7 separate regions of the Homo sapiens genome follow, and all the other regions are linked to region 1. Evidence: promoter capture Hi-C in 16 types of primary human blood cells and fetal thymus (Javierre and others, 2016). All regions are on one chromosome and are shown on one strand. Each heading gives the region's core, a stretch centred on a gene start or on the middle of the fragment in contact. The rest is flanking DNA. Distances are from core to core; before and after follow the strand shown. Region 1 holds the start of NKD1 (NKD inhibitor of Wnt signaling pathway 1). Region 2 overlaps ADCY7 (adenylate cyclase 7). Region 3 has its middle 9.9 kb from the start of ADCY7. Region 4 has its middle 9.7 kb from the start of LINC02128. Region 5 overlaps TENT4B (terminal nucleotidyltransferase 4B). Region 6 overlaps TENT4B (terminal nucleotidyltransferase 4B). Region 7 overlaps TENT4B (terminal nucleotidyltransferase 4B).

What was found. The method cuts DNA at HindIII sites, captures the fragments that hold promoters and counts their contacts. A CHiCAGO score of 5 or more calls a contact.
Region 2: a fragment that was not itself captured here is called in contact with the fragment with the promoter of NKD1 in region 1 in 6 of 17 cell types (naive CD4 T cells, non-activated CD4 T cells, total CD8 T cells and 3 more); the score reaches 6.6 in naive CD4 T cells.
Region 3: a fragment that was not itself captured here is called in contact with the fragment with the promoter of NKD1 in region 1 in 2 of 17 cell types (non-activated CD4 T cells and naive CD8 T cells); the score reaches 6.8 in non-activated CD4 T cells.
Region 4: a fragment that was not itself captured here is called in contact with the fragment with the promoter of NKD1 in region 1 in 1 of 17 cell types (non-activated CD4 T cells); the score reaches 5.7 in non-activated CD4 T cells.
Region 5: a fragment that was not itself captured here is called in contact with the fragment with the promoter of NKD1 in region 1 in 4 of 17 cell types (total CD4 T cells, naive B cells, non-activated CD4 T cells and 1 more); the score reaches 6.9 in total CD4 T cells.
Region 6: a contact is called between a fragment that was not itself captured here and the fragment with the promoter of NKD1 in region 1, in 5 of 17 cell types (total CD4 T cells, activated CD4 T cells, non-activated CD4 T cells and 2 more). The highest score is 9.5, in total CD4 T cells.
Region 7: a contact is called between a fragment that was not itself captured here and the fragment with the promoter of NKD1 in region 1, in 7 of 17 cell types (non-activated CD4 T cells, activated CD4 T cells, naive B cells and 4 more). The highest score is 12.7, in non-activated CD4 T cells.

The regions. Positions count from the first base shown.
Region 1 is chr16:50,546,732-50,549,906 of GRCh38, reverse strand. It overlaps NKD1 (NKD inhibitor of Wnt signaling pathway 1), which reads right to left and starts at 1,511. Exons shown (of 10, transcript NM_033119.5): 1 at 1,329-1,511; 2 at 1,158-1,190; 3 at 352-485. The coding sequence starts at 1,353. RefSeq lists silencers at 1,189-1,378, 1,419-1,868. The HindIII fragment of the contact is 5,196 bases long and covers 1-1,918 here.
Region 2 is chr16:50,284,358-50,287,480 of GRCh38, reverse strand. All of the region lies in intron 1 of ADCY7 (adenylate cyclase 7), which reads right to left. Among named protein-coding and RNA genes, the nearest start is that of MIR6771, 6.7 kb to the left of the region's middle. RefSeq lists an enhancer at 3,046-3,123. The HindIII fragment of the contact is 581 bases long and covers 1,343-1,923 here.
Region 3 is chr16:50,254,858-50,258,466 of GRCh38, reverse strand. It overlaps a transcript of ADCY7 not described here. Among named protein-coding and RNA genes, the nearest start is that of ADCY7, 9.9 kb to the left of the region's middle. The HindIII fragment of the contact is 8,884 bases long and covers 1-3,609 here.
Region 4 is chr16:50,828,583-50,832,195 of GRCh38, reverse strand. No RefSeq gene overlaps it. Among named protein-coding and RNA genes, the nearest start is that of LINC02128, 9.7 kb to the left of the region's middle. The HindIII fragment of the contact is 1,155 bases long and covers 1,522-2,676 here.
Region 5 is chr16:50,183,522-50,186,723 of GRCh38, reverse strand. All of the region lies in intron 1 of TENT4B (terminal nucleotidyltransferase 4B), which reads right to left. Among named protein-coding and RNA genes, the nearest start is that of TENT4B, 32 kb to the right of the region's middle. RefSeq lists enhancers at 1,623-2,184, 2,185-2,747. The HindIII fragment of the contact is 4,375 bases long and covers 1-3,202 here.
Region 6 is chr16:50,227,336-50,230,710 of GRCh38, reverse strand. It overlaps TENT4B (terminal nucleotidyltransferase 4B), which reads right to left. Exons shown (of 12, transcript NM_001365324.3): 11 at 2,708-2,872; 12 at 1-1,559. The coding sequence ends at 1,383. Among named protein-coding and RNA genes, the nearest start is that of ADCY7, 38 kb to the left of the region's middle. The HindIII fragment of the contact is 534 bases long and covers 1,108-1,641 here.
Region 7 is chr16:50,204,647-50,207,925 of GRCh38, reverse strand. All of the region lies in intron 1 of TENT4B (terminal nucleotidyltransferase 4B), which reads right to left. Among named protein-coding and RNA genes, the nearest start is that of TENT4B, 53 kb to the right of the region's middle. The HindIII fragment of the contact is 6,724 bases long and covers 1-3,279 here.

The sequences.
Region 1 (3,175 bases), core at 262-2,761:
GCCCCTACTCCACCTCCACCTTTGAATGCTGGTGGCAGAAACAAGGTAGAAGTCAGAGCAGGCCCCCAAATCCCGCCGGTACAGACACGATTCCCCATCAACTGGACCTTCACCACCTCCCCACCTAGGACCTTTCCCCCAGGCAGCCCTCTGCCTCCAGCTGGGCACTTCGAGGTTCTCCAAGGCATGCGGGCAGAGGGTCGCGTTGGTGGGGCAGGGGGCAGCTGAGAAGAGATTTTCAGACCCAGAAGCTGTGCAGGAAAGTGCTCAAAGTTGGGGTGCATGGGTTTGGGGACCCATCTCTGAGGCTGAAAGGAGGCCAGGAGGTGGGGCAGGGGTGGGGAATCATACCCGGGTGCTTCGGCCTATGGTGCCCGCCAACCGCAGCTGTCGGGGTCCCGAGACACCGCCCGGGCAGCGCTGTCTCCCGATCCACTCCTCGATGCCCTTCCGAGCCCAGGCAGCGCTCACGGCGAAGCTGTCACCTGGGACGGGGACGACATGAAGCCCCTGAGTCTGGCTCCAGGTGCCAAAAGTTACCCCCGCGGAGGGAAGAAGGAGGCGCGGTGGGAGGCGAAGGACCACGGCACGGGGGCCAGGAGGGGGTTCGCGGGCTGGGGCAGGAGCCAAGAGAGGGACGCGGGTAAGTAAAGGGGGGTTCAGCGAAGCCCTAGGAGCGAGGAGCCAGAAGGGGGCAAGAGGGGTGAGCAGTACCCCAGGAGGACGGGTTTAGGATCAGACCAGGGAGCACTGGCAGCCAGGACTGCGGAGGAGAGGGCTGGGGGTCAGGAGAGGGGCCGCAGTAGGTGCAGGAGCCAGGATATCGGAAGAAGGGCCGGGGGGCAGGAAGAGGGGGCAGGGTCTTGCGGGGAGGCGCTTGGGGGTCTGAAGAGAGGGTGCCGTGAGAGCCGAGGGCAGGGACGCGGGAGGGGGAGGGGTTGAGGGTCAGCGGTGGGAGCGCAGGACCGCGGGGAGCGGGTAGGAGGGACAGAGGAGGGGGCGCGAAGGCTGCTCAGGGAGCGGGCTTGGGGGGCCGGTGGCCGGAACTGGGGCTTCGGGGTGGCCCTGGTCATAAGACCTGGCGGGCTGGGCCGTTCTGCCGCGGCCGCGGTGTCCCCCGCGTCCATCCCCGAGGTCTGCGCCCCGCGCGCCCCTACCTTCCGGGCTCTCCCTGCGCTTGCACACGGCGGCTGCAGGCACATCGCGAGGCGGCGGCGGCGGCGGCAGCCGCGGCGGCGGGAGAAGGAAAGAAAGGAAGGGAGAGAGTTAGCGACCGCGGCGGCGACGGCGGCGGGGCCCGGGGCGAGCGCGCGGGCGGGGGCACTGACCCGGCTTGGAGTGAAGTTTCCCCATGCTGGGGCTGCGGCGGCCGGGAGCGTCCCTAAGCCATGCGCCCGGCCCGCGGGCCTGGCGCCTCCCTTGGCTCTCCTCCTCCCGAAGCAGCCCCCGAGCCGAGCGGAGCCCGAGGCGGCGCCGGGACGCGCTCCTGCCGCCGTCGCCGCGGCCCGACTGACGCCCGGGAGCGCCGAGCCCCCAGCCCGCCGCCGCGGCCCGCGCCTCCCCGCGCGCCCATTGGCCGGTGCGGCGCATCAAAGGCAAGGCTGGTTGCGGCGGGGGCGGGGCCGGAGGCGGGGCAGGGCGGGGACGAGGGCGGGGCGCTGACGGGAGGGGCGGGACACAGTCCGCGCTCCCTGCCGCGGTCTGGGGCCGGGGGCCGAGCTCCAGGGCTGGCGACCCGGCGGGGCGGCTTGTCCAGGAGGCGTATTGGGACAGAACAGCCCGGCCATCGCTAACTGTACTGTCACTTCCCTCCGCTCCACGTTCTCTCTAAACGGGCAGGGCGGGACTCGGCGGCTCCAATTTACAGGTGGGGAAACTGAGGTCGGGAGCGGAGACCTTAGCTGCTCAGGTGCAAGCTTCGGCAGCGCTGCCTTTTCCCAGTCTTCCCACGACCTACCTTCTGCAGAAAGTGTTCATTACCCGCCCCGTGACCCGCCCCCCACCACCGCACTCCTCTAGTTTCTTATTTGGGGAGTCCAGGAGGAGCCCCCAGCGCACCCCGGGCCAGTGTGAGCCCAGCCCTCTCCAGGCAGCGACAAATGTCCAAAGCGCCCCGTTATCAGCCAGTCTCTGGGATCTCCTCGTCCGGGGGCCCGTGGGTGCCCGCCCGGGTCGGGGCGCGCTGCCAAACTGCGCGGCCCGGAAGGGGGTAACCGCTGAGTCTTTGATCTTCCTTGGTTTCCGCTCCCCGCTGCAGTTCGCCAGACCCAAGGGTTTGTTTGTTTTGTCTGGGGAGGTCTCTGCGGGGAGGTCGCGCGGGGGGAGGGGGATGGTGGCGGTCGACATCAAGGGATTCCACCCCACCTTTGTGGCTCTCAGAACGCCTGCCCCCTTCTGGGGACACTGTGGGTCCGTGTTACGCTCGTCCTGGCACCAGGCAGCTCTGGCGTGGGAAAAGAAAACCCGCAGCTCAGAGTGAGACCAGCCCCGACCTTTGGAGTGAATTACCTGTGCTCAGTTTTGTGATCTGTATAATGGAGGCTCCATTCTGCCCTTTTTGCCGACTCTCTAGAGCAGCACTGCCCAATAGAAATATAATGTGGGCCACATTTGTAATTTTAAATTTTCTTGTCGCCACATCTTTTAGAAGTAAAAAGAAATAGATGAAATATTAATAATATATTTCGCTTAACTCAATACAGTCAGCCCTCCTTATTCACAGGTTCCACATCTGTGGCATCAACCATCTGTGGACTGAAAATATGCAAAAAGAATAATACAGCAAAAATAAAGAATAAAAAACTTTTTAATATAGTATAACAACTATTTACATAACATTTACATTGTATTAGGAATTACAAGGAATCTAGAGATGATTTAAAGTATTCAGAAGGATGTGTGTAGGTTATATGCAAATACTACAGGACATTTTATATAGCGGACTTGACATCTGGGGATTTGGGTATCCTCTAGGATCCTGGAACCAGTCCCCAAAGACACCAAGGGAACACCATATATCCAAAATAGTATAATTTCAAGATATAATGAGATATTTTACATTCTTTGTATTGCGCTAAGTCTTTAAAATTCAGTGTGTATTTTACACTTAAAACACATCTCAAAGACTAGCCATATTGCAAGTGACCATTTGCACTTGGCTAGTGGCTACTGCATT
Region 2 (3,123 bases), core at 384-2,883, 260 kb after region 1:
CGTGGGCTCAAGCAATCCTCCTGCCTCAGCCTCCCAAAGTGCTGGGATAACAGGCATGAGCCACCATGCCCAGCCACTATTTTAAATTAAATTTAAATTAATTTAAAATAAAATTAGAAATTCAGTCCCTCAGTCACACTAGCCACATTTCAAATACTCAACAGCCAGCCAGGCATGGTGGCTCATGCCTGTAATCCCAGCACTTTGAGAGGTCGAGGCAGGCAGATCACCTGAGGTCAGGAGTTCGAGACCAGCCTGGCCCACGTGGTAAAACCCCCCTCCACTAAAAATACAAAAATTAGCCGGACATGGTGACGTGTGCCTGTAATCCCAGCTACTCGGGAAGCTGAGGCAGGAGAATGGCTTGAACCTGGGAGGCAAATTTTGCAGTAAGCTGAGATCGTGCCATTGCATCCAGCCTGGGCAACAGAGTGAGACTCCATCTCAAAAAAAAAAAAAAATCAAATACCCAATGGCTACATGCAGCTGCTGTACTGGACAGCACAGATAAACAGAGAATGTCTATCATCACAGAAGCTTCTACAGGCCAGCTCTGCTCTGCATGTTTCACTGTTTTGCTTTCACACAAAGGTCTCTGATCCATTTCGATTCACTCTGGGTATGGTGTGAGGTAGGGATCAAGGTTCACTTCTTTTTTCCATATGGATATTGAATTATCCCAGCAGTGTTCAGTGAACCGGCCATCCTCTCTCTGAATTTCAGTGGAGCCACCTCTGTCATAAGTCAGGTGATCACACACAGATGGTGTCTGTTTCCAGGCTCTGCTCTGTCCCCATGGTCCTGGTGCAATCACCACATTCACTTCATTTTCCAGTGAGTCTCATGCCTCCAGGCACAGAGGGTTCCAAGCTGTGATCCTAGGAGCCCTGAGATTTGGGGACATGCATCAGGCCCCCAATGGGAAGGGAAGGTGGGGGGGCATAGGCTCAGGCCCCCATGCCTGCTTCAGCCAGGGTAGCCCCCTGCATCTGTGTTACAGTAAGCTCCACATAAAACTGCATTTTCTTTCTCTCTTTTTTTTTTTTTTTTTGAGATGGGGTCTCACTCTGTCACCCAGGCTGGAGTGAAGTGGTGTGATCATAGCCCGCTGCAGCCTCAACCTCCCAGGGCTCAGGCAATCCTCCCACCTCAGACTCCTGCGTAGCTGGGACCTCAGCTATGCAGGAGGCTAAGGTGGGAGAATTACCTGAGCCTGGGGAGACTTAGGCTGCAGTAGGCCATGTATTTTTTGTAGAGATGGGGTTTTGCCATGTTGCCCAGGCTAGTCTTGAACTCCTAAGCTCAAGCAATCTACCCTCCTCAGCCTCCGAAGTGTTAAGCTTTCAGGCACTGTACCCAGCAAAAATCTTGTTTATTTTTTTAAATAGCCCACTGATACAAATTTCAGATGTCTGCAAGCCGTGCTTCACAGAAAAGGGAGCTGAGTCTCAGAGAGGGACACAGTGGCCCCTTTGTGACAACACTGTGAGCTGACCCCACACTTGCCATGCTCAGCCCATATGGGTTCCTTCTTTCCCCAGCACCATTCATTCCTTAGCATATTCATTGATTCCAAAAAGGCTTGTGAATCACACCTACGCCTGCCAGCCCTTATATCTCCTGTGTGCTAGTCTGGGCTCTCTCTCCCCAGGGATCCCCATCAGTCTCCAAAGGTAGGAAAATTACCAAAATTGTGCAATCCCTCACACAGCAATGGGGACTTGGGGACAGCTGCCATATTCCCAGCAGGAACCTTGCATGAAGGGGGCAACCCTGGACCAAGAGTCCACGCCCCCAGTGTCCTCCAGGCCTGCCTCAGATTGGAACCAGGACAGGGCCAGAGGCAGAGGGCAGGGAGGCTGTGAGACACGGGACAGCTCAGAGCAGTCACAGGGCACAAATGGCCAGCCGCCAGCAGAAGCTTCAAAGGACAGCTGGTCCAGCGGAGGGAAGATGGCCAGGTGAGCCCCCAGCCCCCAAAGGCAAAAAGCAGGATATCCAGGGTCCCCAAGTCCCCAACCAGCACCTGCTAGTATGAGATCCCTGGGGCCACCTCAATTCCAGGAGCCACCTCAGGCTCTATTTCCTCTGGAAGTTCCTATTCCATCACCACACACCAGGAACAAAATGGTAAAACCACATATTTGGGGAAGGAGGAAGGGGTCATTTGCTGGGGGCCCCATCCCCTTCAGTGCCTGGGCAGGTGTCTACAGGCCTTGGCACCTGTTCAACGAGGGGCAACCCTTCAGGGATGTGGCCAAGAGCTGTCAAAGTGCCCAAAGTGCTCAGACAGGCTACAAATCTGATTTCTACGTGAAATGATGATTTTTAAATGTTGGCAGCTGATTTCAAATTTTTCAATATTTGCAGCCCACTAGTTTACAACCTCTAAATCTAAACTAATCAGTCTGTATTCCACAAGAGGCATTTACTGTGTGCTAACCATATACATCCAACCCTGTGCTGTGGGGGTTGCCAAACAAGATAAGGTCCCTGCCTGAGATACATTCAATTCAGCACCCCCCACCCCAAAATAGCCCTTTGCAGTAATAACAGCAGCAGTTCCTGTCACCCCCGGCACCTGCACACACATTCACTCTCATCTTCACAACCGGCAAAGGCCAAGGTGGCACCACCGTCTCACAGATGCAGAACTGAGCCCAGAGAGGCAGAGTGGTTGCCTAAGATCACACTGCTGGAGCTGGTGGACAGATAGGCTGGGATGCAAACCCAGGTCTGCCAGCTCCCAAACCAGGGCTCCTCAGCCCAGGCTTGCCCACTGACATCCCGGGGGACTGAGCCAGATGCCACAGCACACAAACAGCAAACCCACCTGACCCCTGGCCTGCTGCCAAACACCAGTGCACCAGGACAGCCAGGCTGAGAAGCTCCAAACACCAGAGGGCTGAGGCCACTCCCCACAACTGCTCCATCTCCCAGGCAAAGCCCCCAGACCAGAGCTGAGGCGGCCAGACACGTGCATGAAAGTGCAAGTGTGAGAGTGTGTGGACACACCCGCTCCAGGCACACAAAGCCAGGCTGGGCCACCACGAGGAAAGGGAGGAACCAGCTGAGAGAGTCCCAAGGGCCCGTGGGAACACAGGCCTGGTAAACACGCCTCTC
Region 3 (3,609 bases), core at 798-3,297, 290 kb after region 1:
ATTAGATCAAGCCTCTGGATACAACTATGAATTTATAGGATTCAGGGGACAAGGAGCATGCTACACATTATAGGAAGCTCTCCTACAGGTAAAGGGACCCAGCTTCAACAAAAACACCACATGGAAGACAGAGAGAATGAGTACCAGTCCTACAGATGAAAAACTGAAGAAACATATCACAGTCTCATCATGCAGACCTCATTCGGATCCTGATTATTATTATTTTTTAAAGAGACAGGGGCTCTCTCTGTCACCCAGGCTGGAGTGCAGTGGCGCAGTCATAGCTCACTGCAGCCTCCAGCTCCCAACCTCAAGTAATCCTCCTGCCTCAGCCTCTCGAGTAGCTTGGAGGTTACATTACAAGTGCATGCCACCATGCCTGGCTCTGGATCCTGATTTTAAAAAGCTAATATTAACATATAGGCCAGGCACGGTGGCTCACGTCCCTAATCCCAGCACCTTGGGAGGCCGAGGCAAGCGTATCACTTGAGTCCAGAAGTTCGAGACCAGCCTGGGCAACGTGGTGAAATCCTGTCTCTACAAAAAATACAAAAAAATTAGCCTGGTGTGGTGGTGCATGCCTGTGGTCCCAGCTATTAGGGAGGCTGAGGTGGGAGGATCACCTGAGCCTGGGAGGTAGAGGTTGCAGTGGACCGAAATCGCATCACTGCACTCTAGCCTGGGCAACAGACACCCTGTCTCAAAAAAAGAAAAAAAAAGATAAATCTAATATATAAAATATAAATATATATATATATGACATTTACAAAACAATTGGAAGTTTGAACACCGAATGGATAGTTACGATCTTAAAGAATTACTGCTAATGTTTAGCAATATGTGTGGTAAAATGTTTGTTTTTTTAATTTTATTGTAAATTGATCAGTTATAATTGTATATATTTATGGGATACAAGGTGACGTTACATATATACAATGGAGAATGATGAAATGAAGCTAATTAACATATCACCTCAAGTATTTAGCACTGTTTGTGGTGAAAACATTTGAAATTACCCTCTTAGTAATTTTGAAATGTACATTAACTATAGTCACCATGCTGTGCAATAGGTCTCAAAAAACTTATTCCTCCACTGAAACTTTGTATCCTTTGACTGACCTCTCTCTATCTCTCCCCATCCCACCCCTGCCCCCCTTACCTACACACAGCCTCTGGTAACCACCCTTCCACTTGCTGCTTCTGAGTTCAATTGGATTTTTTTGTTGGTGGTGGTCTTTTGCATTTGTTTTGTTTTGTACAGGTGGGGTGCTATGTTGCCCATGCGTTTTGAACTCCTAGCCTCAAGCAATTCTCCCACCTTAGCCTCCCAAAGAGCTGAGATGACAGGCATGAGCCACCGCACACAGCCTAGATTTCTTGGATTCCACACATAAGTGAGATCGTGCAGTATTTGTCCTTCTGTGCCTAGCTTATTTTACTTAGTGTAATGTCCATTAGGTTCACCCATGTTGTTCCTTCTTTCTTAAGGCTAAATAGTATCTCATTGTGTATATATGTCACATTTTCTTCATCCATTAATGGACACTTGTTTCTAGATCTTGGCTATTATGAATAATGCTGCAATGATTATGGGAGTGCAGATATCTCTTTGACATGCTGCTTTCAAATCCTTTGGATATGTACCCACAAGCGGAAGGAAGGGAGGTTCCTACTATTTTCCATAATGGCTGTGCTAATTTGCATTCCCACCAACAGTGCTCAAGGGTTTCCTTTTCTCCACATTATCTCCAACACCTGTCTCTTTTTTTTTGGAGACAGGGTCTTGCCCAAGCTGGAGTGCAGTGATGTGATCATAGCTCACTGCAGCCTCTGAATTCTGGGCTCAAGTGATCCTCCCACCTCAGCCTCCTGACTAGGTAGAACTACAGGTGCACGCTGCCACACCTGCCTTGTTTTTTTATTTTTTGTAGAGATGGGTTCTCCCTATGTTGCCCAGGCTGGTCTCAAACTCCCAGGCTCAAGCAATCCTCCTGCCTTAGCCTCCCAAAGTGCTGGAATTACAGGCGTGAGCCACCACGCCTGGCTTCTCTTGTCTTTTTAATAATAGCCATTCTAACAGGTGTGAGATGATACCTCACTGTGGTTTTAATATGCATTTCCCTAATGATTAGTAATGTTGAACATTTTTTTGTATACCTGTTGGTCATTTGCATGGGTTCTTTTGAAAAATGCCTATTCAGGTTCTTTGCCCATTTTTTAATTGGGTTTGTTGTTGTTGTTGCTGTTATTGAGTTCCTTATCTATTTTGGATATTAACTTCTTTTCAGATGTTTGGCTTGCAAATATTTTCTCCCAGTCTATCGGTTGTCTCTTCTGTTACCTGTTTTCTTTGCCATGCAGAGGCTTTTAAGTTTGACATCATCCTATTTGTCTATTTTTGCTTTTGTTGCATGAGATTTTGGAGTCAAAAATAATAATAATAATTGCCCAGACCAGTATCACATAGCTTTTTCCCTATATTTTCTTCTAGTAGTTCTATAGTTTCAGGTCTTATGTTTAAGTCTTCAGTCCATTTTGAGTTGGTTTTTATATGTAAGGATCTAATTTCATCCTCCTGCCTGTGAAAACCCAGTCTTCTCAACACCATTTATTGAAGAGGCTATCCTTTTCCCATAGTGGGTCCTTGGCATCTTTGTCAAAAAAATCAATGGACTGGGCAGGCACAGTGGCCCATGCCTGTGATCCCAGCATTTTGGGAGGCCGAGGCAGGCAGAGCCCTTGAGCTCAGGAGTTCGAGACCAGCCTGGGCAGCATGTTGAAACCCCATCTCTACAAAAAATACAAAAATTAGCCAAAGGTGGCATGCACCTGTTGTCCCAGTGACTCAGGAGGCTGAAGTAGGGGCATGGCTTGAGCATGGGAGGCAGAGTTTGCAGTGAGCCAAGATCCCACCACTGCACTCCAGGCTAGGTGACAGAGTGAGACACTATCTGAACAACAAACAAACAAACAAATCATTGGGCTGTAAATATATTCATGGGTTCATTTCTGAGCTCTCTATCCTGTTCCATTGGTTGATACGTCTTTTTTTTTTTTTTTTTTTCCAGAAACAGAGTCTTATGGGCCAGGCATGGTAGCTCATGCCTGTAATCCCAGCACTTTAGATGGCCCTATCTCTATAAAAAAGAAATTATAAATATATATATATATTTTAATTGGCTCACTCTGTCACCTAGGCTGGTGTACAGTGGCACAATCATAGCTCACTGCAACCTCAAGCTCCTAGGCTCACGCAATCCTCCCACCTCAGCCTCCCAAGTAGCTGGGACGACAGGCTCCTGCCACCACACTCGGCAAATTTTTAATTTTTTTTTTTTTTTTTTGTAGAGACAAGGTCTTGCTATGTTGCCCAGGCTAGCTTCAAACTTCTGGCCTCAAGCAATCCTCCCACCTCAGCCTCCCAAAATGCTAGAATTACAGGCATGAGCCACCATGCCTAGCCCAATGTGTCTATTTTTATGCCAGTACAATGCTATTTTAATTACTGTAGCTTGTAATATATTTTGAAATTAGGTAGTGTGATGCCTTCAGCTTTGATCTTCTTGCTCAAGATCACTTTAGCTATTTGGGGTCTTTTGTGGTTTCACC
Region 4 (3,613 bases), core at 850-3,349, 280 kb before region 1:
CTGAAAAAAATTACTATCATTATAGGTATGTGGCATTCCAAGAATATAAAATTGCCACTTACCACCTCATGGAGAAAGAACTTGTGAATTATGGAGGCTATGAATTACCTGGGGTCTGTAGGATGCTGTTTTTCCCCTCCCAGATCGCCTTTCTGGACTCCAGTGAGTTTGCACCAGCTGCACCCTTCCCTGGAGAATTGCCTTCAGCTCATGACAGGGACCATGACCTGGAAGTTGGACCCCAACACACAGCAAGGGCAGCCCACAGCTAATGACTGACTGATCAATGTGATTCAGAGCTTCAGGGCTCTTATCACCATGGCTCAGACCAAGACTGGGCTTTGCTTGAGGTTTGCTTCCTTGTTCTGCTCTCTCCCTTGTCTTATTGTGCCTAATTCCCTCCCTTACAGGATTTTCCTGAAAAACTCCCCTGATTAATCATGTGCTCCTTGAATTCCTTTCTCAAGCTCTGCTTTTAGGGAACCCAAGCTAATATATTTGGCACCAGGAGTGATCCTAGGAAATAGATGAGAAGGATAGGATTCTGAAGTCCCTAGATGGCTAGAAATCATAGCCCCATCACCGGTGCTTAGTGTACAGTGGTAAATGGCAGGCAGTGATTGTTGCTAAGATTCTACCTGTAATACACCCAGGGCATGGGATACAGGTGGAAAAGGTGCACTGCCCTGTGCAAGAGCTTTGATGTTTGAGAGGTATGGGAAAAAGAGTTCTTATAAAGACTGTAGAATTGGGTGCCCACCAGTGAATGCCAATCATGCCTTAAGAAGAGGAAAAGACAGACTCAGGGCCATCAATCACAATGTGAAGCAAAACATGAGGGTCTGAGAGCCCCATTGCCAGCATTATAGAAACTCTCATCTCCCACAGCTGGGGAGGCAGACAGCTGGCTCCCAGGCCCTGGCCTTAAGGATATGAGGAAAGGACTTAAGGATAAGAGTTGCAACTTTAAGGAAATTTAAATTCTAATTCTAAGCCTAGGCAAGTTTTCTACACCAAAGTCAGACCTCTGATGGAGAAGCTGCAGGAATCTGGAACTTGGGGTAAGTGCATTTGAGTACATGTACTTGAGAACTTTGGGTCCTCTGGGTCTGCAGAAGCGGCCTGTCCACCCTGTTAGGAGACTATCCAAGAAGCCCCAAATGAGGATTTTTATAAAGCAGCACTGGCCTCCTCCGTATCTGCTGTCACCTCCTCTCCCCGCCACCAGTCTAATCTGTAGGGCCAAGTCTCAGCATGAGTCAACTGTGTGAGGCCTGCTTAGGAATGGGAAAGTTTCTAAGTAAAAGACTCTGCAGGTACTAGTGGACATGCCCTGGCAGGACTGGGAGGGCATGCCCAGGAGTGGATCCTGAGGATGCTGGGTCAAGGTGGACAGAATTTATCACTGAATAAAGGAACATTTGTTGACAAGGGAGCCCTCTCCTTTGCCATGGAATTTAACACCCCGGCGAGGCTTCCAGGGATGGGTCTAATACATAGCTGGGATGGCTCTTAGAAGCTTGGAAAAAGCTCACATTGGCCCTCATTAAATGAAGCTGAGATGCCAGAGCTCTCACTGCAGATGATGGACGAAAGGATCAACGAAGTGGTGGCTGAATTGCAGTTCCTATGCCAAAGGAGGTCTGTTTACTACAGCAGACTAACACAACCTCAGCTATGTGGTTTGCAATTTATTTCTGATCTGCCAAACGTGTTCTTTCCAATACTGTTGTTTGTTTCCTGGGACTGCCATAACAAATTACCACAAACTTAATGACTTAAAACAACAGAAATTTATTCTCTCACAGTTCTAGAGGCCAGTGGTCTGAAGTCAAGGGGTCAGTAGGCTGCCTCTGGAGGCTCTAGGGAAGAGTCCTTCCTCTCCTGGTGGCTGCCGGCTGTCTTTGGCATTTCTTGGCTTGTAGACACATCACTCCAATCTCTGTCCTCTCCTGTATGTATTCCTCTCTCTTCTCTTATAAGGAAATTTATCATTGGATTTAGGGCCTACCCTAATCCAAGATGATCGTATCTTGAGATCCTTTATTTAATTATATCTGCCAAGACCTTTATTCCAAATAAGTCCACAGTTCTAGGTTCCAGGTGGGCATATCTTTTCTTTGGTGGGGTGGGGGCAGGTGCATCATTTAACCCACTACACGTGCCCATCACAAATGAGGATCAGAAGCTGTTTGCATCTACATCCAATGGATAATAGCATATATTGATAATCCTGCCCTGGAATATGGTAATTCTGATTTCTGCCATAATGTAGTCCATAATGTGACCTAGGCAATCTGGACACTTCACAAAGAAACTGAAATTACTTCCCTGTATCAATTTCAGCAGTGAGCTGAAATTACTTCCCTGTATGATACGTTAATTGGATCAGATGAGCAAGAAGAGACAAGTCATCGGGATGCCTGGGTAAGATACATGCTGTCCAAAGGATGGGAAGTAAGAAATCCCAGGTATGTATCAGCAAAGTTTCTAGGGGCCAGTGGTCTGCAGCAGTGGAGCATCCCTGTATTAGGTGATTCTTGTATTGCTGTAAAGAAATAGCTGAACCTGAGTAATTTACAAAGAAAAGAGGTATGATTGGCTCATGGTTCTGCAGGCTTTACAGGAAGCATGGTGCTAACATCTGCTCAGCTTCTGCGGAGGCCTCAGGAAGCTTACAATCATGGCAGAAGCAGAAGGGGAAGCAAGCATGTCACATGGCCAGAGCAGGGAGGAAGAGAGAGAGAGAGAGAGAGAAGGTGCCACAGACTTTTAAACAATCATATCTCGAGAGAATTCACTCACTGTCATGAGGACAGCACCAAGGGGATAGTGCTAAACCACTCATGAGAAATACGCCCCCACAATCCAGTCACTTCCCACCAGGCCCCACCTCCAACATTAGAGATTACAATTTGACATGAGATTTGGGTGGGCACATGCATGCAAATAATATCAATCCCCTCCAAAATAAAGTAAAGTTATTGTACTGTGCAATTCCTACCACTAAGGAAAAATCCCCAGTGCTTGGTAGACCAGTCCGAATTGAAGGACGCATACTCCAACACTGGGGGATACTGCTCTTGCCCATTCAATGACTTGTAAGGAAACATGCTAGTCTTAAGTGAGGCTCAAAGCAAGAGAGGGCTCTGCAGCAGGTCCAGGCTATGCTACAAGTTCTGTAGCTTGGACCATGTGACTCCATAGACCCCATGGTACTGGCATTAGAAAAGTAGTAAGATCTCGAATTAATAACTTCAGCCTCCACCTTAGGGAACTAGAAAAATGTGGCTCACGCCTGTAGTCCCAACACTTTGGGAGGCTGAGATGGGTGGATCACGAGGTCAGGAGTTTGAGACCAGCCTGGCCAATGTGGTGAAACCCGTCTCTACTAAAAATACAAAAATTAGCCAGGCATGGTGACACGCACGTGTAATCCCAGCTACTCAGGAGGCTGGGGCAGGAAAATTGCTTGAACCCAGGAAGTGGAGGTTGCAGTGAGCTGATATCACACCACTGTGCTCCAGCCTGGGTGACAGAGCAAAACTCTGTCAAAAAAAAAAAAGAAGAAGAAGAAGAAAAGAAAGAGAAGAGAAGAAGGAAGGAAGGAAGG
Region 5 (3,202 bases), core at 568-3,067, 360 kb after region 1:
GAGACTGGAGCCCTTGAACTTTGCTTGTGGGAAGGTAAAATGATTTAGCTATGGTGGAAAAGTCTGGCCATCCCTCAAAGAGTTAAACATAGAATTATCATATGATCCAGCAATTCCACTCCTAGGTATGGAACCAAAAGAACTGAAATCAGAGATTCAAACAAATATTTGGTTATCAATGTTCACGGCAGCATTATTCACAACAGGTAAAGGGGGAAACAATTCAAATGTCCATCAAGGTTGAATGAAAAAACAAAATGTGGTATATATAAACAATGTAATATTAACTATCTCTAAAAACATTAAAGTGATACAAGCTACCACATGGACAAACCTTGGAATCAGCCTGCTAGATGATGAAAGCCAGGAACATAATTAAAACAAAGCATCACAAGAAGAAAAAAAAGCCAGAAACAAAGCGACAAATATGTAGGATTCCACTTAGATGGAAGAGGCAAATTGATAGAGATAGAAAGTAGAATGGTGATTGCCAGCATCTAGTTGCAGGGAAGGAGTGATAAACTATTGTTTAATGAGTACAGAGTTTCTGTTTAGGATGATGAAAAGTTCTGGCAATGGACAATGGTGATGGTTATACAACACTGTGAATGTACTTAATGCCACTGACTTGTAAACTTAAAAATGGCTAAAATGGTAAATTTTATCTTATGTATATTTTACCACAATAAGAAAAACGTTAAGCTAACACTGGATATCTATAAAAATGTTTTGTGCAGAACTTAATTTGAGAAACACCACTACAGAATTAAAAGTAAAAATTACACCATTTATGTAATGTTTAAAAATACAGACAATAGTGTACTAATAGATGTAAACATAGATGAGAGCATAAAAGTACGGATGGAAAGGGCACACATTTGCCTCTGAGGACAGGTCACCTCTGAGGAAGTGGGGGTAAGGGGGAGTGAGAGGTATGCCAAGGGTGTGCAGGTGAATCTGAGTAGTTGCATTCCTTAAGAAAAGAGAGAGGGAGGAAGGGAAGGAAGGAGGGAATAAAGGAAATCAAATGTGTCAAATCCCAGTGGAAGGTAACCAGAGCTTCGATACGTTACTCTGCATCCTCTTCACGTGTTAAGTAATTATAAAAACAAACTCTGAAATCACTAAAAATCAAAGGTTTACACAATAAGGAAGCATGTAAATTAAAACTTCCCTCAACCATTTTACACAGTGAATGAACAGATGACCCATTGACACAGGGAAATGTTCCAGAACTTACCATAAAGACCAGCTTGAACTTTCCTTCCCTCCTCCCTCCTCACAGATCTAAGATGCCATGAACAGTCAACTGGAGTTGCCAATCACCATTCACTAGCCAGACTTCTCTCTCACTTCATGACCATAATTGGTCCTGTACTTTGTACTTGCCTCCAAAACTGCAAGTTAAGTAAGCATTAATCCCCATTAGAAGTAAGGTGAAAGCTGCAGCATTCCTCTCGATATACAAGTAAATTCCTACTAGGCTAGTAATACACAGTAAGATTGGTTGATAATTTACTTACTGCAAGTAACTGAAAATTGTCATTACTTAGATGCAGAAATTCCCACAGAAGCCAGAAACTTGGAAGCAAACTACAACTTGGAGCTTGCTTCTTTGCTAGTCATACCAAGACTACCCAAAGAGTATCAGGGTGGAAATAACCCTAGCGCCTCTCTCTCTTTCTCACTCGCCTGCACAATCAGGTCTTTTATTTTCTTTTTAGGCAAAGCACTATTTCCATCTAAGTACAGGGAATGTGAGAACACAACAGGCTCAATTAACACTCAGAACCAAAAGTGGGGATACTCCTAGATATTGACCCAAGAGAAATGAAAAATGTATGCTCACACAAAAATTGCAGCATGATACTCAGGAGCCTGAGGCACAAGAATCACTAGAACCAGGGGGCGGAGGAGGCTGCAGTAAGCCTACTACACTCCAGCCTGCGTAACAGAGTGAGACTGTGCCCTCCGCTCCCCCCACAAACAAAACAAAACAAAATAAAAAAAAACCCTCAAGCATGATGGCAGCATTATTCTCTTTTTTTTTTCTTTTTGAGATGGAGTCTCGCTCTGTCGCCCAGGCTGGAGTGCAGTGGCGCCATCTCGGCTCACTGCCAGCTCCGCCTCCCGGGTTTACGCCATTCTCCTGCCTCAGCCTCCTGCGTAGCTGGGACTATAGGCGCCCGCCACCACGCCCGGCTAATTTTTTGTTTTTTAGTAGAGACGGGGTTTCACCGTGTTAGCCAGGATGGTCTCGATCTCCTGACCCTCGTATCCACCCGCCTCAGCCTCCCAAAGTGCTGGGATTACAGGCGTGAGCCACCGCGCCCGGCCGGCAGCATTACTCTTAATAGTCAATGGAAAACAACCTAAATGTCCATCAACTGATGAATAGATAAACAAAACATGGTATAACCATACAATGGAATATTACCCAGCCACATAAAGGATAAAGTAATGATACATGCTATAACACAGATGGACCTGGAAGACATTATTCTAAGTGAAAAAAGGCAGACATCAAAAGCCATTAATTTTGGCCTTCCAAAATTAATGTATTATACTACTGTATTGTGCATTCCATTAATATGAAATGTCCAAAACAGTCAAATCCGTGGAGACAAAAAGTATTCTGATGGTTGCCTAGTGCTGGGAGGTTAGGGGAGAAATGAGGAGGAACGACTAATGAATACAAAGTTTCTTTTTGGGTTGATGAAAATGTTCTACAACTTATTCTGGTGATGGTTGCACAACTCTAGGAATACATTAAAACATAAAAGATATAATTCACCCACTTTAAATGGGTTAGCCACCACGCCTGGCTAATTTTGTATTTTTAGTAGAGACGGGGTTTCACCATGTTGGCCAGGCTGGTCTCAAACTCCTGACCTCAGGTGATCTGCCCACCTCGGCCTCCCAAAGTGCTGGGATTACAGGCATGAGCTACCGCGCCTGGCCAAATCTGCCCAATTCTTTTGCAGATGCTTCTCCACTGGAAGACACAAATGCCCATTTCTGAAACGGCTAAATCTCTCAACTTATCGAGTTCCTGTGTATGTGATCTTCTGGCCAAGGACACACAATTTTCTAATTCAATGGTGCCAAGTACACTATTACTTCACTTTCAGATAAGAAGGTGATTAATAAAACAGGAATTCAAAGTACTGTAAAAATAAGAATTCCAAAAAAAAAAAAAAAA
Region 6 (3,375 bases), core at 125-2,624, 320 kb after region 1:
AATTTACAGTATGATTGAAACAAGCCAATGTTTAAAAAAGTTTTAATTAACGATAACAATTCCATGAAAGAAGAGGATAAAGAATGGGATGACAAGAAGTATTTGGTCTTAATAAGGCAATACAAAATAGATCCATTATCAAAGACCATTTAATTTGTAAAGATCAACAATACCAAAAGCATAGAGTGGAATATAAGAAAATAGTTTTTTATAAGTATGATTTAATTAAAGCTGTTTACAGTTATTCTCCCACAGTAGTTAAGCATGAATTTTAAAAAGAATAAGAGATGAGAAACAGGCACACGCAGCACACAGGGTTAGAGAAGCCAGCATGCAAAGTCTGTGGAACTCGAAGTTTCACTGCAACAGGAATGAGACCAGACATGGGTGACCTTTTTTTTTTTTTTTTTCCTATTAGGAAGAAATGGGGGGAAAAAAAAAAGACTGCAAAGGAAGCAAACACAAAGTCATGTAATTGCCCATTGCCCAAGACGACAGCACTATAGAAAACAGTTGCAAGTTAATTCTCGGAGATGACCAGAGATTTTTCAGTGTTTACACAAAAGTACATAGTACATTTTTTTTTTTTTACAAAATAAAATAAACATCATTTGCCACCATAAACCTTTTCTTTAGAGAGGAAAAATTTTTGCAGCAGGACACAAGGGTTCTATTAAGTCATTTCAATGCTGAGAAAAACAAATTGAGTAATAGAACTAATCACTTCCCTATATATGGATGTTAAGATGACAATTTAGATTATTTTTCAAACTAATCCTGAGAAAAAATCTGTTTACAATTTAAACAGTAATGTTATGTAAAAAGTATTATTAACAAATCCACTATTACAAATATCAATCTCCTATATGGTCTTCTATATATACACACAATAAAATGGTAAATATATGCAAAAATATTTAAAAAAAAAACATGCACAGATCACTTTCCCCTTTGGAATCTGGACTTCCTATCAGATACCTTTGTTTTCCTTCCCCACCTCATCCTCTGATACTGTTTTTTGTTTCTATCACCCTACCAACACTGAATACTATTCCCTATAACTCTGCATAAAGCCAATGAGAAATATATTTATTTTACATTCAAGCTTTAAATCTTAAAATGACCCTGTTGTAGCATATGACTTATCAAATAAGCAGCCTTTTTTTTCCCTCTTTTTTGCTTGCTTTTTTTTTTGTTTTGTTTTGTTTTTTTTGCAGTTGTCAGTCTTCATGATCCATTCTGTGGCGAGCTGGGAAAAAACGCAGTTGCTAAGTCAACGTCTGAACAGTGTGAGGCTCCTGAATATCTCCCAGGAGTCCCTGCGCAACTGTCCTGAGCATGAGATCATTGCACAGAGAAGACAGTCCACCGCGCAGCGCTGACTATCTACAGAGGTCTGAGAGGGGCGCGTCCCTCTTGTGTTTCCTCTTTTTGCCATGGTAATACTGATTATTGGATTTGCCTTGATGTTGTTTGTTTGTCATCAAGGAACCATGGCTTGTTTGAGTTGTACCTTGGAAGCCTTTGCTGGAAGAACGAAAGAGCCTTGCTGATCCATGCTGCAGAAACAGAAAACGACCACAAAGACATCAGTATTGCAGAAAAGCAGAGTGTTCTCAAACACCTGGATTTGGGGAAGCTTTCAAAACTAGGAATATGCTGGCTAGATTGTTACCTTACTGATCACTGACTTATCTAGTGGGCAGAAAAAGCTGTTACAGGGGTTCTTTTTAGCTCTAAAACCCTTACTTTATTTTAATGGAAATAATGAAAAGCATAGACCACTCGCCCGCCTTCTTAACAGTGTGTGGGATGCAAAGGTTTTCTTAAGAAACTTACCAACCCAAACACCACATCATAAGTGACAGAGCGGGAAGAGGCTCTTGGGCATGACAGGCACACTGGTAGGTTTGGGTCAGCACAGGTGGCTACTCCCTTCCTGCTACTCATGGCCTGTGGCTTTCTCGTGACCTCAGTCCCTTCTGTCAACCCTGTCACTTGAACTGGTATTTTGTGATAAGTCTGTGTCTGGCATACATGGCTAAGGCCGCGTAGGTAAAGTGAACTCAGTGAGTCAAATCAGACACAAGGTTACAGCCAAGAGGCCTATTCCCAGGTTCCCAGCTATAGTGAGGAGTGACCCAGCCTTAGGCCAGAGCCCCATATCAATGGCTTCCTCCCCTCACTCTGAGTCATTACTCAGTTAATGACAATTCTAGGCAACAAAAAAACTTAAACTAGAGTATCTCTGTGGCCTTTTAAGTCCAAGCTAATGTTAATCAACTGACCACGCCTGACAGCCAGCTGATCATTTCAACACCAGCAACAAGGTATTGAACATTAAAATATTAGAAAAGGATACATTATTCCCAGATATGCACACTGCCATGAGGCCTCACAAAACCTTCATGCCAGCTTATTTCATGTACAACTGAGACACTTTTTATATGGTAGTTTGGCTGGAACATCTTATAAGGACCAGTCAATAGATTCCTGAAGAGATTTATGTTACAATGGTGTCTCACAAGGATCCTTAGGACATCCTGTTCCTAGAAGCACTGTCATGTGTTGGAACCTCTTAGAATAAAATAAGTTTGTTCTTCAATCTAGCGTTTTCTTCAAACCCATGCTGCATATTATTTACATGTGGGAAATTCTAAATATTTTGTATCAAATACTAACAATTAAAAACCCACGTTCCACACACCTGAGATTTGTTGGTGCTGTTGGATGTGTTAGTGGTTTGGGTGCTTTGCATTTTCCCAACTGCCTGAGAGGACTCCAAGGATACATCTTGCGACCCTACTCGGTTCCCAGTGGACGGACGGCAAAGCAGCTGTTTCGGGGTTTTGCATGGTGTTGCATCGGAATCCTAACACAAGTCACGTGAGTTATAATGTGACATATTAGTAATTTAGATACTCAATATTCAGAAAGAAAAACAATTTTGGTTAAAGTACTCTCTGGACTAAATTTAAACATTTGGGAGTTAAAAGAAGCACACAAAAAATTAACTGTTTGTTTAAATTTTCCTCCAAACATTTAAAATGACTGATTTTATCAGAGAGCTTCTGTTCATTGTTAAATCCACTGCCCACATCTGACCTTGAAGGAGCTCACAGAGGTCTAAGTTTATTTGTTTTTTTATTTATAGAAAATGAAAGAGTATGGTAAAGAGTGAGGAACCTAGGTCCTAGTCCCTGGCTTCAGCCAGACACAAGATGATGGGTTTAAGGGGTTCAATCTCTGAGAGTCTGTGATGACAAATCAGTGATCATTCTAACCAAACATACTGGTGTGGGTGGGGGTGGACTTCCCGCGACAGTGGGCTGAGCTCCACCTATTTCTGGGCTGCATGGGCCATGACAATGCTAC
Region 7 (3,279 bases), core at 695-3,194, 340 kb after region 1:
AGGACTGAGTAATTTTACTGGCACAGTGCCTTGCATATTCAGGCACTTAAAATACCCTGACGAGCTGGAAGTCCGTTTGTAGAGTGTGCACTGTAAGTCTGGCTCTCATTTGAGTGGCAGAGTGGACCACCTGAGGAATTTTGTAGGCTTGCTTTCACATGGTAATATAATTTTATGCCTCTGAAAGCATCCAAGTACACAGAGAAAACTTCAGTTTCTCCCATGTTTGGATCAAAATTTAATATGATTTATGAGTAGGTATTGCTGGATGACACATGCCCATTGTTACAGTTTCTCATATGAAATTATAAAATACATCATACTGAACTAAGAATGATGAAAAAAAGTATAGAATACAACTCTTCCGTGATCTGAACCTGTATGTACCCAAAATACAGTGCCCTCTCTAGGATATCAATGTTTTTATGTTAAAAGGAAAAGTGGCTCGGGCACAGTGGCTCACGCCTGTAACCCTAGCATTTTGTGAGGCTGAGGCGGGTGGATCGCTTGAGTCCAGGAGTTCGAGACCAGCCTGGATGACATAGTGAAACCCCATCTCTACAAAAATACAAAAAAATTAGCCAGGCGTGATGGTGCACGCCTGTAATCCCAGCTACTCAAGAGGCTAAGGTGGGAGAATCGCTTGAGCCCGGAAGACAAAACTTGCAGTGGGCTGAGATTGTGCCTCTGTTCTCCAGCCTGGGCAACAGAGCAAGACTCCGTCTCAAAAAAATAAAAAAATTTTTAAAAAAGGAAAAGTGAACAAGATCCCTGTTCACAAAAGAAAAGTCATATAAAAGCAGTATGATAAAATGAGCACCACTATACAACGGGAAAGGATGCCAAAAAAAAAAAAAGAGAGAGCAAGAGAAACAAAATTAATTTGCTGGGGTAAAATTTACATTAAAATCTCAAAATTAATAACAGAACATTTAATATGACAAGGAGGTGTCCAAAAAACAGATTCCATATTTAAAAAATAAAACTCACAGGTAATTTAGGTTAAAAAAAAAAAACAAACTTCTGTTCTGAGGAAAGATCTGCTACAGAAAAGGAATCCAGCCTATCAAAATTATGTGAATTTTATAATGCTTGTCATGGGGTGGGAGGTTCAAGATCTTTGGCTGGAAAAGGAAGAACCATTTCGCATCCTTCAGCTGGACCACCCTGGGCACACTGTGAGTTGCTTAGTAGCTTCTGCATTCTCAAAACCAAAGGCAAGGTGGAAAGCTCCCTTGTGCCTTCTAGGCCAAGGGAGGCAGATGACCCACGGCCAGCCCCTCTGCTCAGCACCGTCCCCTGCGGCTCATCCATGTTTCTGTTCAGGGATGACACTGCTTCCCAAGAGATACCTGCCCAGACACAGCATGTCTGAGCCCACCTCCACATCAAGGTCCAGCTTTCCCAGTTCCATAACTGAAGTCAGACCTGTTTTATTACCAAATTCATCCCTTACATGAAGGAACTGACAAAGTTCTATTCGATAACTGTCAATAACAGGACATCCCTCCACCAAAACAAACTGTCAATAACAGGACATGCCCCCACCAAAAAAAAAAAAAAAAAAAAAATACATACATATATATTTATCTCTTAAGGTTCATGATATCCAATTTTGAAACAATATATTGAAAAGGCATTCATATGCATGTGGGGAAGTATAAATTACTACAATCTCTCCTGAGGTCATTCTACTAACAAACGATAATGTTTACACAAATAATTTTTAAAATTTCCCTTCTTTCCATCCTCCAGAAATATTTTCATGAGGGAACAAGGATATCTGTATAAGGATGCTCACCACAGGATTAATTAGGATACTAAAAAATTTAGAAATGATATCAATGTCCATCAACAGGATCCAATTAAATAACAACAGAAGCACCCATAAAGCACTTTCCCTTTATAGCCAATAACCTCTTAAAAAAATAAAGCTATATAAGCTGATAAAGATGTCAAATATGTTAAATTGGAAAGAAAAAGCATAAAAAATGTGTTCAGCAGAATCTCTTTTGTGTGCGTTAGACATGTGCAGGGGCAGAAGCAGTGGCTCACACCTGTAATCCCAGCACTTTGGGAGGCTGAGGCGGGTAGATCACTTGATGTCAGGAGTTTCAGACCAGCCTGGCCAACATGGCGAAACCCCATCTCTACTAAAAATACAAAAATTAGCTGGGTGTGGTGGCAGGCGCCTGTAATTCCAGCTACTCGGGAGGCTGAGGCATGAGAATCACTTGAACCCAGGAGGCAGAGATCACAGCAAGCTGAGATCATGCCACTGCACTCCAGCCTGGATAACAGAGCAAGACTCTGTCTCAAAAAAAAAAAAAAAAAAAAAAAAAAAAAAAAAAAAAAAAAAAAAAAAAAGACATGTAAACACATACACACAGAGGCAGACACACAAAATGTTCCTATTTGCATTGCAAGTTTTCTGGAAGGAGAACTGTTAACAGATATTACCTTAGGGACAGGGACTTTTGCCCAGTGGAGGGCACAGGCAGGAGAGTTAGGAAGACTTTAACTTATTTTTGTATCTTTCTGTACTATTATAATTTTTTTTAAAAAATCAGCATGTATTTGTCCACTTTTGAAACAGAGATTATTGTCTGCTTGATGAGATTATAGTCCAGGAGATTTGTTGTCACCTTTATATTTTCCCATGTGAAAAATATGGTTGTGAGTATGCATGTTCCACCCACTAACCAGCCCTCTGCCCGCCCCACACAGAACAGGGTCTATATACGATACTGTTAACAGTGATCACATCCGAAGAGGGACTGGGGGGGTCATTTTAAGAAAAATGCATACATGTTAATTACCACTGTATATTTTTAAAACAAGAACTTCATCATAAAAAAATTCATTAAAGAAAACACAAAGCAGAAACACTTAAATTACTCTAATAATCTAGCCTTGCAGACACACTTCGAAAGAGGGTGATATGGGCCGGCTGTGGAAGGAGCTCAGTGGTCAGCCTGTGGGCAATACTGACAGCTGGGGACACAGAAGACCTCCAAACCCAGGAATGCAGTGACAGCACACACCAGTACATTTTGCAAAGTTTCTGCATGCCCAGTGCAGTGTGTGTGGTGAGTTTCTGCTAGTGTCTGGCCCATCCTTTCTGGGATTATTTATATACTCAAACGCGTTGCAAGGCAAATTTCTGGAAGAATACACAAAAACTGCTAGCAGGACTTTCCTCTGGGGTGGAATAGAGGTCTGAATTTGCATGATTTTGTACTGTTTGATTTTCTTCAAGCCTGCCTAGACACCAAGAGA